Linked DNA regions of Homo sapiens: all the other regions are linked to region 2. The links are contacts of gene promoters, found by promoter capture Hi-C in blood cells and fetal thymus (Javierre and others, 2016). All regions are on one chromosome and are shown on one strand. The core of a region is centred on a gene start or on the middle of the fragment in contact, and the rest is flanking DNA. Distances in the headings are between cores, read along the strand shown.

Evidence for each region. Contacts are between HindIII fragments. The CHiCAGO score rates a contact against its expected background, and 5 or more counts as called.
Region 1: a contact is called between a fragment that was not itself captured here and the fragment with the promoter of RPRM in region 2, in 1 of 17 cell types (M2 macrophages). The highest score is 5.6, in M2 macrophages.
Region 3: a fragment that was not itself captured here is called in contact with the fragment with the promoter of RPRM in region 2 in 2 of 17 cell types (M2 macrophages and M1 macrophages); the score reaches 6.2 in M2 macrophages.
Region 4: a fragment that was not itself captured here is called in contact with the fragment with the promoter of RPRM in region 2 in 3 of 17 cell types (M2 macrophages, endothelial precursors and M1 macrophages); the score reaches 6.6 in M2 macrophages.

Annotation. Positions count from the first base shown.
Region 1 is chr2:152,928,680-152,931,687 of GRCh38, reverse strand. No RefSeq gene overlaps it. Among named protein-coding and RNA genes, the nearest start is that of ARL6IP6, 210 kb to the right of the region's middle. The HindIII fragment of the contact is 4,907 bases long and covers 1-3,008 here.
Region 2 is chr2:153,477,280-153,480,082 of GRCh38, reverse strand. It overlaps RPRM (reprimo, TP53 dependent G2 arrest mediator homolog), which reads left to right and starts at 1,321. Exons shown (of 1, transcript NM_019845.3): 1 at 1,321-2,745. The coding sequence starts at 1,518. The coding sequence ends at 1,847. It also overlaps a transcript of GALNT13 not described here. RefSeq lists a silencer at 1,087-1,286 and enhancers at 1,643-2,146, 2,147-2,650, 2,651-2,803. The HindIII fragment of the contact is 6,762 bases long and covers 1-2,803 here.
Region 3 is chr2:152,945,239-152,948,087 of GRCh38, reverse strand. No RefSeq gene overlaps it. Among named protein-coding and RNA genes, the nearest start is that of ARL6IP6, 230 kb to the right of the region's middle. The HindIII fragment of the contact is 715 bases long and covers 971-1,685 here.
Region 4 is chr2:152,910,607-152,913,420 of GRCh38, reverse strand. No RefSeq gene overlaps it. Among named protein-coding and RNA genes, the nearest start is that of ARL6IP6, 190 kb to the right of the region's middle. The HindIII fragment of the contact is 3,456 bases long and covers 1-2,814 here.

The DNA of each region.
Region 1 (3,008 bases), core at 451-2,950, 550 kb after region 2:
ACAGGCGCCCACCACCATGCCTGGCTACTTTTTGTATTTCTAGTAGAGACGGGGTTTCACCATCTTGGCCAGGCTGGTCTTGAACTCCTGACCTTGTGATCCACCCTCCTCGGCCTCCCAAAGTGCTGGGATTACAGGTTTGAGCGACCACACCTGGCCTCAAAATGGCCCTTCTTACCAAGACCATATTCATCAAGCAGTTTTTTAGAAAACTGGTTAGAGAATAAGTACATGCACAAAGAGTTTATATTCTTTTCTCTTACAACATGACCTTATCTTCACATCGTGGAGACAAATGTGTCTATACTCTTACACACTCACCTTTCATTGGCCGCAGTATCTGTGTGCCTATGATTATGCTCATATCTCCCATCCTATCCTGAAAAACAAAAGGAAAAAAGAAAAACAATCAAGTAAATAGAGTGGATTCACTTGGAAATCCCCATCTCTTCTTCACTCTGAACACTTTACAATAATAGCTTAAATTTTTTAAATGTCTTTATAAGACACAGCTGTAATAAAAAATGTACAAACATCTTTGTGGTTCAGATATGGCACACCAACATGGCACATGTGTACATATGTTACAAACCTGCACGTTCTGCACATGTACCCTAAAACTTAAAATATAATAATAATAAAATTTAAAAAAAATACATAATAATAAAAAGTAGGTTGTAGCTCTAAGCATCCTATGCTCCAAGACAAAAAACAAGTGTTGGTCACTGGAAAGTCAGCTGCTGCAAGAGAGTAAGGACAAAAGCACCCCATGTACATAGGAGCCTACATTCAGGTTCAATTTTGAAAAATATGAGCTGGAACAAACCTATCTCTCTCTGTGAACAGAGGCTAAAATAAAAGGCTGTTGGGCTTGGATAACAAGAAAGAACAAAGGCTTCCAACATTGGATATGCAATATCCCCAAGCCAATATAAGACATCATTCTGAACTGGGAACTCTCAGAATCCAAAGCAAAGCAACTGCCAAATCACTAAGGATTACATCAGGAGAGAGACGAAAATCTCTTACTTAAGATGAGCTTACAAGTCAAAATTTAAAGTCTTACAAAGACAGCTAATCCATTAAATGAAACTCAACAATAAGAAGAGCTGATTTCTAAGGAGATGCAAACGATAAAGAAATGTAAAAGGTTTTTAAAATAAGCACTTTAATATCCTCAAGCTGATAAAAGAAGGAAAATTTCTTATTTATCAAAACAGGGGATTATGGAACAAATATAGGTACATTTGAAACAAAACAGGTTGGTATGTTAAAAAGTCAATTATAAATGCTAGAAATTACATATATATTTCTAGCATTTGTTTATATATATTATATATCTAGCATTCATTTATATATCTAGCATTCATTTATATATTATATATATATAATTTCTAGCATTTAATTGTATATATAATACATCAAGGAAAGAATTCAGATGACAAGATAAACTTTAGGCTGAATCCAGTTAAAGAATTAGTTATTGAACCACTGCTCAGTAATTCATTCTTAAATCTTGGTTCTCCCCAATGTTTCCTCCTTGGACTCCTGGCCTTCTCATTTTACATGCTCTTATCAATCACTTCTTCTTCAAAAGTCATTAAAGTTCTATATATATCATGTAATATGTAATATGTAACATATTACATATATGTAATATGTTACATATATGTACTATGTGATGCTACATAAATGTAGTAATATATTACATATATGTAATATGTGATGTTACATATATTCAATATGCGGTGTGTTGCATATAGGTAATATATGACATGCAACATATATGTTACATGTTGCATATATATGTGTGACATGTTACGTATATGTGATATGTTGCATGCATGTGATATGCTGCATATATGTGATGTGTGATATGTCACATATATGTAATATGTGATATGTGATATATTACATATATGTAATATGTGATATGTAATATGTTACATATGTGTGATATGCGATATGTAATATGTTACATATATGTAGTGTGTGATATGTAATATGTTACATGTATGTGATATGTAATGTGTAATATATTACATGTATGTGATATATGTGTGATACATATGTAATATATTATAAAATATATTATATATAATATATGATACATTATATGTATTATATAATATATAAAATATATATTATAGCATATATTTTATATATACTATAGTATATATACTATATAATACATATATATTATATATGTAACATATTGCATATTATATTACATAATATATATGTAATATAGTATATAATATATAATTATATGATAATATAATATAGTGTATAATATACTATATTATATAATTACATAATATAGTATATTATATACTATAATAATATAGTGTATATTATATATTACATATATTATATGTAATATATATGTAACATGTAATATATTGCATATATAATATATAATATGTTACATAAATTATATAATATATTACATATATAATAGTATATATTAAATACATATTATATATTTAGTATATAACATATAATATATAATATATTAAATATGTATTATATAATATATTAAATATATATTATATTGTATTATATATTATATAATTGTATATTATATATTATATAATTGTATATTATATATATTATATAATTGTATAATATATATAATATATTATATAATATTATATATTATATAATTATATATTATATATATAATTTATATGTAATCTATAATATATATTATACATAATATATCATGTATAATTATATATATCATACATCATATATATATTATGTATAATATATAAATGTATCAGATAACATAACCAGTTGTCTCATGAACACATATATCTAGATGGACTTAGGTATCTCAAACTCAACACATTGCAAACTGCTCATTAACTTCTTTCTACCCCATAGTCTATTTTGCTGTATATTCCCTATCTCAGTAATTGACTCTTTGTCACTATTGTTTCCTTATCCAAGTCAAGAGCCTGAGAGTCATCCTTGACTCCCTTCTCTCTACCAACGCACAAGAC
Region 2 (2,803 bases), core at 72-2,571:
CAGAGTAATTAGCGTACCCATTATCTCAAATTTTTATCAGTTCTTTGTGGTGAGAACATTTAATAGAAAGTAAATGTATTCTATTGGAAGCTCAAGTTACTGGTTTCCAGCTGTTACAGCTGAAAGAAAGAGGGAGGAAGGCAGGGAGTAATGGGGAAAAGGAGGGAGGGGAAAGAAAACAGAAAAGGGGGAGCGGGAACATGCAATATTCTTTCAGAGTTAAGAAACTTAATCTGACAGGTTTATAGAATTTCGTTGGAACCTAGAGCAAAATCACAATGGCTGAAGCGTCAATCAGGCCTATAAAAACATCTGTGTTTAGTTTAAATGACTAAGGGTGAAATACATCAGCTTATGGAAAATGGGGAGGGCTCCCAGTATTTGGCCAGCGTTCTAGGTGATGGATGTTGATGAGCAATTCCCTTCAACAACTGATTTACTGCCAACGGACAAAATGCTGGAAGCACATCCAAAAACTTATCTGCAATTAAAATTACAAGCAAGTGGTCACTCTGTTCACCTCCTTTACCAGAGAGGTGACCCTGCTCCCGGCAACTACCTCCACCCAAGGGCCACAGAAGAACTCCTCCTTCCTCTAACCCTCTTTCCTTGGCCTCAAACCTCACGGTAAAACCTGCCTTGCTCTGTCTCCCAATCGCTTTTGTAAAGGAAGCTGGGTGTAGAGCTCTTCTTTCTCCCTCCCTTCCTTTTTTCTTTCCTTCCTTCCTTTCTTCCTTCCTTCTTCCATGCCTTTCTGTCTTTCCAAATTCATTGCTTTGTAAGAAACATTCTCAGATCACCTCCACTCCACTAGAAATCCAACGCAGGCGAGTCGGAGTCAAGCACAGGCAGTGGGCGGGTGGCCTCAGCCGGCACCATCTGGCACCTGCGATTCATCGCCACTTTCCATTCGCCCAGAGGTCAGGGGGGCAGCAGGCAAAGGACACGCAGAGCTCGTGTGTCCCAGTTCCTCTGAAACTTTCAGCTGACCGCACCCTCCCCCGACAAACTCTTTAATCATCCATCAAGCTAGAAGAGTACAGTGACCTCTGCCTGGCCTTTGGAGTTTGCAAAAGAAGCAAGCAATAAAAAGCAAGACCAGGTTCGCCCCTTTGCTTCCTCCACCTCCCAAGAGCAGCGCGCAGCGCGGCGGTGCGGCCGGAAGGGGCCGCTGTTTGCTCAGCGCAGCCACCCCGCCGCTGCAGCCGCCGCGGCCCGCACCTCCCACGGCCGGGCTGGTCCAGCCCCGCCAAGTTCCAACAGCCCCCCCTCGAGCGAGCGCCGGGAACGAGCACCACCAGGGCTGGAGCGGACGGCTTTAGAAGAGCCTAGCTGCTGCGCGCGTCGGAGAGGCTCCTGGGAAACTCCCACGGCCCAGGGACTTTCGAAAGCAGAGCGAGGAGCCCTCGCACGCGCTAGTCTGCGAGTGAGCGCTCAGCCCGGCACCTGTTCCTCCAGCGCCGCCGCCTTCCCACCCCTCGGACCCGCGCCGCTCGCGGCGCCCGCCCGTTCCTGCGATGAATCCGGCCCTAGGCAACCAGACGGACGTGGCGGGCCTGTTCCTGGCCAACAGCAGCGAGGCGCTGGAGCGAGCCGTGCGCTGCTGCACCCAGGCGTCCGTGGTGACCGACGACGGCTTCGCGGAGGGAGGCCCGGACGAGCGTAGCCTGTACATAATGCGCGTGGTGCAGATCGCGGTCATGTGCGTGCTCTCACTCACCGTGGTCTTCGGCATCTTCTTCCTCGGCTGCAATCTGCTCATCAAGTCCGAGGGCATGATCAACTTCCTCGTGAAGGACCGGAGGCCGTCTAAGGAGGTGGAGGCGGTGGTCGTGGGGCCCTACTGACCCGCCCTCTGCCCCCGCGGCAACCGCTCCCACGCCTGCCCACTTTGCTAGCCCGGCTGTGCCCCTCACTATCAGAGACTGGGCGAAGCAAACCTGTCGGAGTCAATTATTTCTCTCGACTTCGGCCTTTCGGAAAGAAGCGACCGGTTTCTCCCTCGCCCTCTGAAAGTCCTCATGCCTGGCAGTCGGAGGAGAGCGCCCAGACTCTGAACTCAGCAGAAAGTGGCAAGAAGAGGGCGATTAGGGCGCAGAACTTTGGAAGCTGCTACTTACTTGGAATGCGGGGAGACCGACGGTGCGAAGGCCCTTCTCCACCCGCAGGTGGGCCAAGCTCTGGGGGCAGGTGGAGAGGGCGGGCAGGGGAGAGACCCAGCGGCACTGATCGCCTTGTGACCGGAAGAGTGACCTGTTAAAAGCCACGCAGCAGACTCATGGGGTCTCACAAATCCGTGTCCGGGTGCGCTCCCACTCTTCTCCTGCTCCCCCCCTGCCCTGGAGGGGAGGGGCGATAAATACCTTTGATTGTAACGTGCCGTTTTAAGAGGTTTTGTGTTTGTTTGCTTGAATACAAATGTTTGATAAGTCTTTTTCTGCCCCAGTGGCCTGTTTGCCTGCCTGAGGAGTTACAGTTTTGTCATTGTGGGAGAAGGGGTGGGGGGAGGGGGAGCCTGCGAATTTGAACGGGGTGAGTTGTTTCTTTTAGTGCATTTCCCACTGGGTCTTTTGGGAGGCGTCTAGCGTTCCTGCTGGCCCTGGGACAAAGACCCAGAATAGAACTCGTAGCTCGTGACTGCACGGTTTACGCCACAAAAGTGCTCTTGACATCCGTGACACCGTTTTGACTTTTTGTTTTTTTCTTATTTAACATTTCCTTAATAAATGCAACATTTAAGCGTTTTGTTCCTGGCCTCCTGGTGGTCATTCTGCGCTCCCCAGCAGGGGGGAACGGGGCGGCG
Region 3 (2,849 bases), core at 79-2,578, 530 kb after region 2:
AGGCAATCTAAGCTTTAAATTATGGTATTGGTATCCCAATTAAAGCCAAGATGTGCTTCCAAACACCCTTGGACAAGTAAGCAAATACATGTAATGTCACCTCCTTTCTTAGCTAATTCTTATCCTTTATTTATGTCACTTACTCAGTATGTTTTCTACTTTTTCTTCTTTTTTTAATTGCTACATAAACCATCAGAAAAGACCATGCACAGCCAACCTGCTGCCCAAGCGAAATCTCTGTTTAATATTTCAGTGTTTCCAAAAATGATGTGCCACTGGCTTGGCTCTGCCTGTAATATTGTTTTCAATTTCCATCTGCCTTGGGCATCTTCCTCCTGCCACGTATCCATATGAGCCTAACTGCATCACATGCAGTGCTGGATGCTAGAAATGCCCTGATACCAAAACGTGATACAAGGATAATCTGCTTTTTCCCTTATAATTAAATGAGAAAACTGTGGGTATACTGTCTCCTACTTGGCCCCATCACAAATGCATCCAACAGATGCCACCACACATGACCCAAGTTAAGTACAAAGGAATGATGTAAATATGCCCCTTAAAAAAATTTCACCGAGGACTGAAACCCCATGAGGTTGGTTACCTTGTGAAGGAAAGCAGGTGTTCAGGTAAAAGGAAGGGCATAGCAATATCCAAGTTAACCAGCATTTTGTGGCCTCTGTACAAAGCCAAGTTACACACTTGCCTCATGCTTTAACACACCTGTCATCTCCTATTGTGAGCTATCCAGGCTCTGAGTTGGTGACAAATTAGGATTAAACCCACCGACAACTATTCACTCCATGCCCATCAGCGTGTGCTCTGAAAAGCCCTCAGACCCCTTCAGACTCTTTAGCAGCAGCCATTGTTTCCTTCGGTAACTGCTACCTTCCAGCAAACAGCATTCAGAAAGACAGCCCATCTGAGAACACATGCTTTCATCTCTGCACTCCCTTGCTGCTAACAAGCTTCCCTATAATAATCATATAAAATCTAACTATGTACATTGGAAAAAAAGGCATTTTGTTAAAACCAAACCAAGCAGTGCAGATGAGGTCTGCAGCATAAATTAGAGCCACGAGGATACTGTGGATAAATTACTGATGATTCTGGTTACAAAGTGTAATCGTTTGGCTTAAGAGGATTAAGCACAACAAGAAATCTTGAATTTTACAACTTTACCCCCAAATTCAGTCCAAGGTCAGGCTTTTGGTCTTGATTTTACTGATTTATCTTTAATATTATCATCTAACCTCTCTAAAATTATATTTTTTCCTAGAGTTGATCCATATACCAAATAATCATTTAATACTGCATTATTCTCCAGACATTTTATGCTTAGGCTTGGCATGAGATACTGAAAAATGGTCAGAAGATATTGGGCAGCTGCTAACAATTTTTTGATATGTACGTGTTCCCTCTAAAAGAAAGCCTCAAATTTTCAAGTGTGAGTTCACATTTTCAGGCAATTTATGTGGCCTTTAATATCTTGAGTAACAATGTAATTATATAATAATTAGCCAGACCCACCTCTCCTCATAAATTTTGTCTGAATCTATTTTGGGTTGCTATAAAGCAATATCTGTGGTTAGGTAATTTACAAGGAAAAGAGGTATACTTGGGCTCTGCAGGCTGTACAAGGAGTGTACCACTGGCATCTGCTTCTGGGAGGGCCTCAGGAAGCTTCCAATCATAGCAGAAGGCGAAGGGGGAGCAGGCCATCACATGGCAAGAGAGGGAGTGAGGAAGGGAAGGTGTAACAGGCTTTTTTAAACAACCAGCTCTCACCTGAATTAATAAAGCAATAACTCACTCATTAATCCAAGGAGGGCACCAAGCCATTCATAAAGGATCCTCCACCATGACCCAAATACCTCCCACCAGGCCCCACCTCCAAAATTGGGATCACATTTCAACACAAGATTTGCAGGGAACAAATATCTAAAATATATCAAAAGTAAATCTTATTTCTCTAAAAATTTTCTGTCATCTGCTGTGGGTTCCCATGTGGTTCCCCACTTCCTGTCCCCTACTAAATAATCCTAAAGAAAGAAAAAAGAAAGAAGCAAGTCATAACTGTCTTCTACATTTTGGTGCTGTATGGCATTTCCATTTCTCTTTAGTTCCCATTCCCTGCCTTTCTTCAGCCTTTAGCATTTATGTTAATGCCCATCTGGTTTATGGACCTCACAATATGTATTTCCTCTAGGCTTTGATGGCCTCCTTCACAAACCAGCCACAAACACCTCTGAACATCCTCATCATAAAGCCCATCATGAAGCCTATAAAGGCCCACAAGACTGTAAGTTCCATGAGAGCAGAAGCTGTATCTTACTCATTTTTGTACTGCCCACTGCATCTGGCAAAATGACCATCACATAATACACCACTAAGTTTCAAAAAATATTTTTGACTTGAAGGTAATATATCTGAGATCCTTACCTTAGCATTCTCTCCTTCCTGATCACAATCTGGCCATTTGTCTTTCTTCTCCCCTCCAATCACATCAGCACTTGGTTCTTATAAAAACTTTTTTTCTTCATCTTTTTTTTTTTTTTTGGAGACAGAGTCTCACTTTGTCACCCAGGATGGAATGCAGTGGCATGATCTTGGCTCACTGCAACCTCTGCTTCCTGGGTTCAAGTGATTCTCGTGCCTCAGCCTCCTGAGTAGCTGTGGTTATAGGCACGCACCACCACACCCGGCTATTATATTTTTAGCAGAGATATGGTTTCACCATGTTGGCCAGGCCGGTCTCAAGCTCCTGACCTCAAGTGACACACCTACCTCGACCTCCCAAAGTGCTGGGATTACAGGCATGAGCCACTGCACCCAACCTGTATAAAGAC
Region 4 (2,814 bases), core at 144-2,643, 570 kb after region 2:
TAAATCCAAAGTAAGCTGAAGAAAAGAAATAACAAAAATTAGAGCAAAAAAAAAAAACTGCAAACAAATCAATAGAGAAAAACACTGAGACCAAAACCTGGTTCTTTTTTAAAAAAAACCTTTATTTTAGGCTCAGGGGTACATGTGCAGGTTTGTTATATAGGTAAATTATATGTCGTGTGAGGTTGGTGTACAGATTATTTCACCATCCAAGTAATAAGCACAGTACCCAATAGTTAGTTTTTTTATCTTCAGCTTCCTCCCTCCCTCCACCCTCTAGTAGGCCCCAGTGTATGTTGTTCCTTTACCTCCCAAAAGTGGAAGCTAAACATTCAGTACATATGGACACAAAGGAAAAAAATACTGCATCCTCCCACATGCAGTATTGGTTTTCCATACCTAAGTTAGTTCACTTAGGATAATGGCCTATAGCTCCATACATGTTGCTGCAAAGGACATGATCTTGTTTTTTTTTATGGCTACATAGTATTCCATGGTGTATATGTACCACATTTTCTTTATCCAGTCTATCATTGATGGGCATTTAGGTTGATTCCACGTCTTTGCTATTGTGAATAGTGCTGTAAGGAACATATGCATGCATGTGTCTTTATGGTAGAACAATTTATTTTCCTTTGGGTATAAATCCAATAATGGGATTGCTGAGCCAAATGGTAATTCTGCTTTGAGTTCTTTGTGAAATCACCAAACTGCTTTCCATAATGGCTGAACTAATTTACATTCCCACCTGCAGTGTATAAGCATACCCTTTTCTGTGCAACCTCACAAGCATCTGCTATATTTTGACTTTATTATGATAGCCATTCTGACTGGTATAAGATGGTATGTGATTGTGGTTTCAATTTGCATTTCTCTAATAATTAGTGATGTTGAGCATTTTTTTACATACTTATTGGCTACGTATGTCTTTTGAAAAATGTCTGTTCATGTCCTTTGCCCACTTTTTAATGGGGTTGCTTTTTTTTGCTTATTAAGTTCCTTATAGATGCTAAACATTAGACCTTGGTCAGCTGCATAGGATGCAAATATTTTCTCCCGTTCTGTAGGTTGTCTGTTTACTTTGTTGATAGTTTCTTTTGCTGTGCAGAGGCTCTTTAGTTTACTTAGATCCCGTTTGTCAATATTTGCTGTTGTTGCAGATGGGCACAGTGGCTCATGCCTGTAATCCCAGCACTTTGGGAGGCTGAGGTGGGTGGGTCACAAGGTCAGGAGTTCAAGACCAGTCTGGCCAACACAGTGAAACCCAGTCTCTACTAAAAATACAAAAAATTAGCCGGGTTTGGTGGTATGTGCCTGTAATCCTAGCTACTCCAGAGGCTGAGGCAGCAGAATTGTGTGAACCTGGAAGGTGGAGGTTGCAGTGAGCCAAGATCGTGCCATTGCACTTCAGCCCAGGTGACAGTCTGAGACTCCATCTCAAAAAAAAAAAAAAAAAAACTATTGTTGCAATTGCTTTTGGCATCTCTGTCATGAAATCGTCACCAGATCCTATGTCCAGAATGGTATTTCCTAGGTTAACTTCCAGGGTTTGTATAGTTTTAGGTTTTAAATTTAGGTCTTTAATCCACCTTGAGTTGATTTTTGTATATGATGTAAGGAAGGGGTCCCATTTCAAACTTTTGCATATGGCTAGCCAGTTATCCCAGCAGCATTTATTGAATGGGTAGTCCTTTCCCCATTGTTTGTTTTTGTTGACTTTGTTGAAGATTAGATGGTTGTAGGAGTGTGGCCTTATGTCTGGGCTCTCTATTCTGTTTCATTGGTCTATATGTCTGTTTTTTGAGCAGTACCATATGGTACTGTTTTGGTTACTGCAGCCTTGTATACTTTGAAGTCAGGCAATGTGATGTCTCTGGCTTTATTTTATTTTATTTTTTTTTTTTTTTGCTTAGAATTGCTTTGGCTATTTGAACTCTTTTTTTTTGTTAATGTGAATTTTAAAATAGTTTTTTTTTTCTAATTCTGTGAAGAATGTCATTGGTAGTTTGATAGGAATAGCACTGAATATTTAAAATTCTTTGGGCAGTATGTCCATTTTAACAATTTTGATTCTTTCTATCCATGAACATGGAATGTTTTTTCCTTTGTTTGTATCATCTCTAATTTCATTGAGCAGTGTTTTGAAATTCTTGTTGTAAAGATTTTTCACCTCCCTGGTTAGCTGTATTCCTAGCTATTTTATTCTTTTTGTGGCTATTGTGAAAAAGATCAACAAAATTGAAAAGACTGTATGTCAGCAAATTCAAGGTTTATTTTTTAAAAAGGAAAGAAAATTGATAAGCCTCTAGCCAGGCTACTTTAAGAGAGAAAGAGATGACACAAATGACTAGTATTAGAAATGATTAAAAGGAACACCACTACATATCCCATTGATATTAAAAAAAAAACAAAAAAAGAATATTAGGAATAATTCTATGCTCACAAATTTGATAAACTAGATAAAATGGATTAATTCCTTGAAAAACACAATCTGTATGTAATCTTTACATAAGGAGAAATAAACAATCTGAATAGGTTTATACCTATTAAATAAATTAAATAAATAATTAATAACCTACTAAAATGGAAGGCACTAGGCCCAGGTGGGCTCACTTATGAATTCTGCCAAACACTTAAAAAAGAAATTATACCAATTTTCTACAATCTCTTCCATAAGATAGAAATAGAGGGAATACTCCCTAATTCCTAAGTTTAGCATTAACCCAATACCAAAACCAGACAACTATTATACAAGAAAACTAGAAACCAATATATTCTGCAAATATAAAAACAAAATATTCAACAAAATATTAG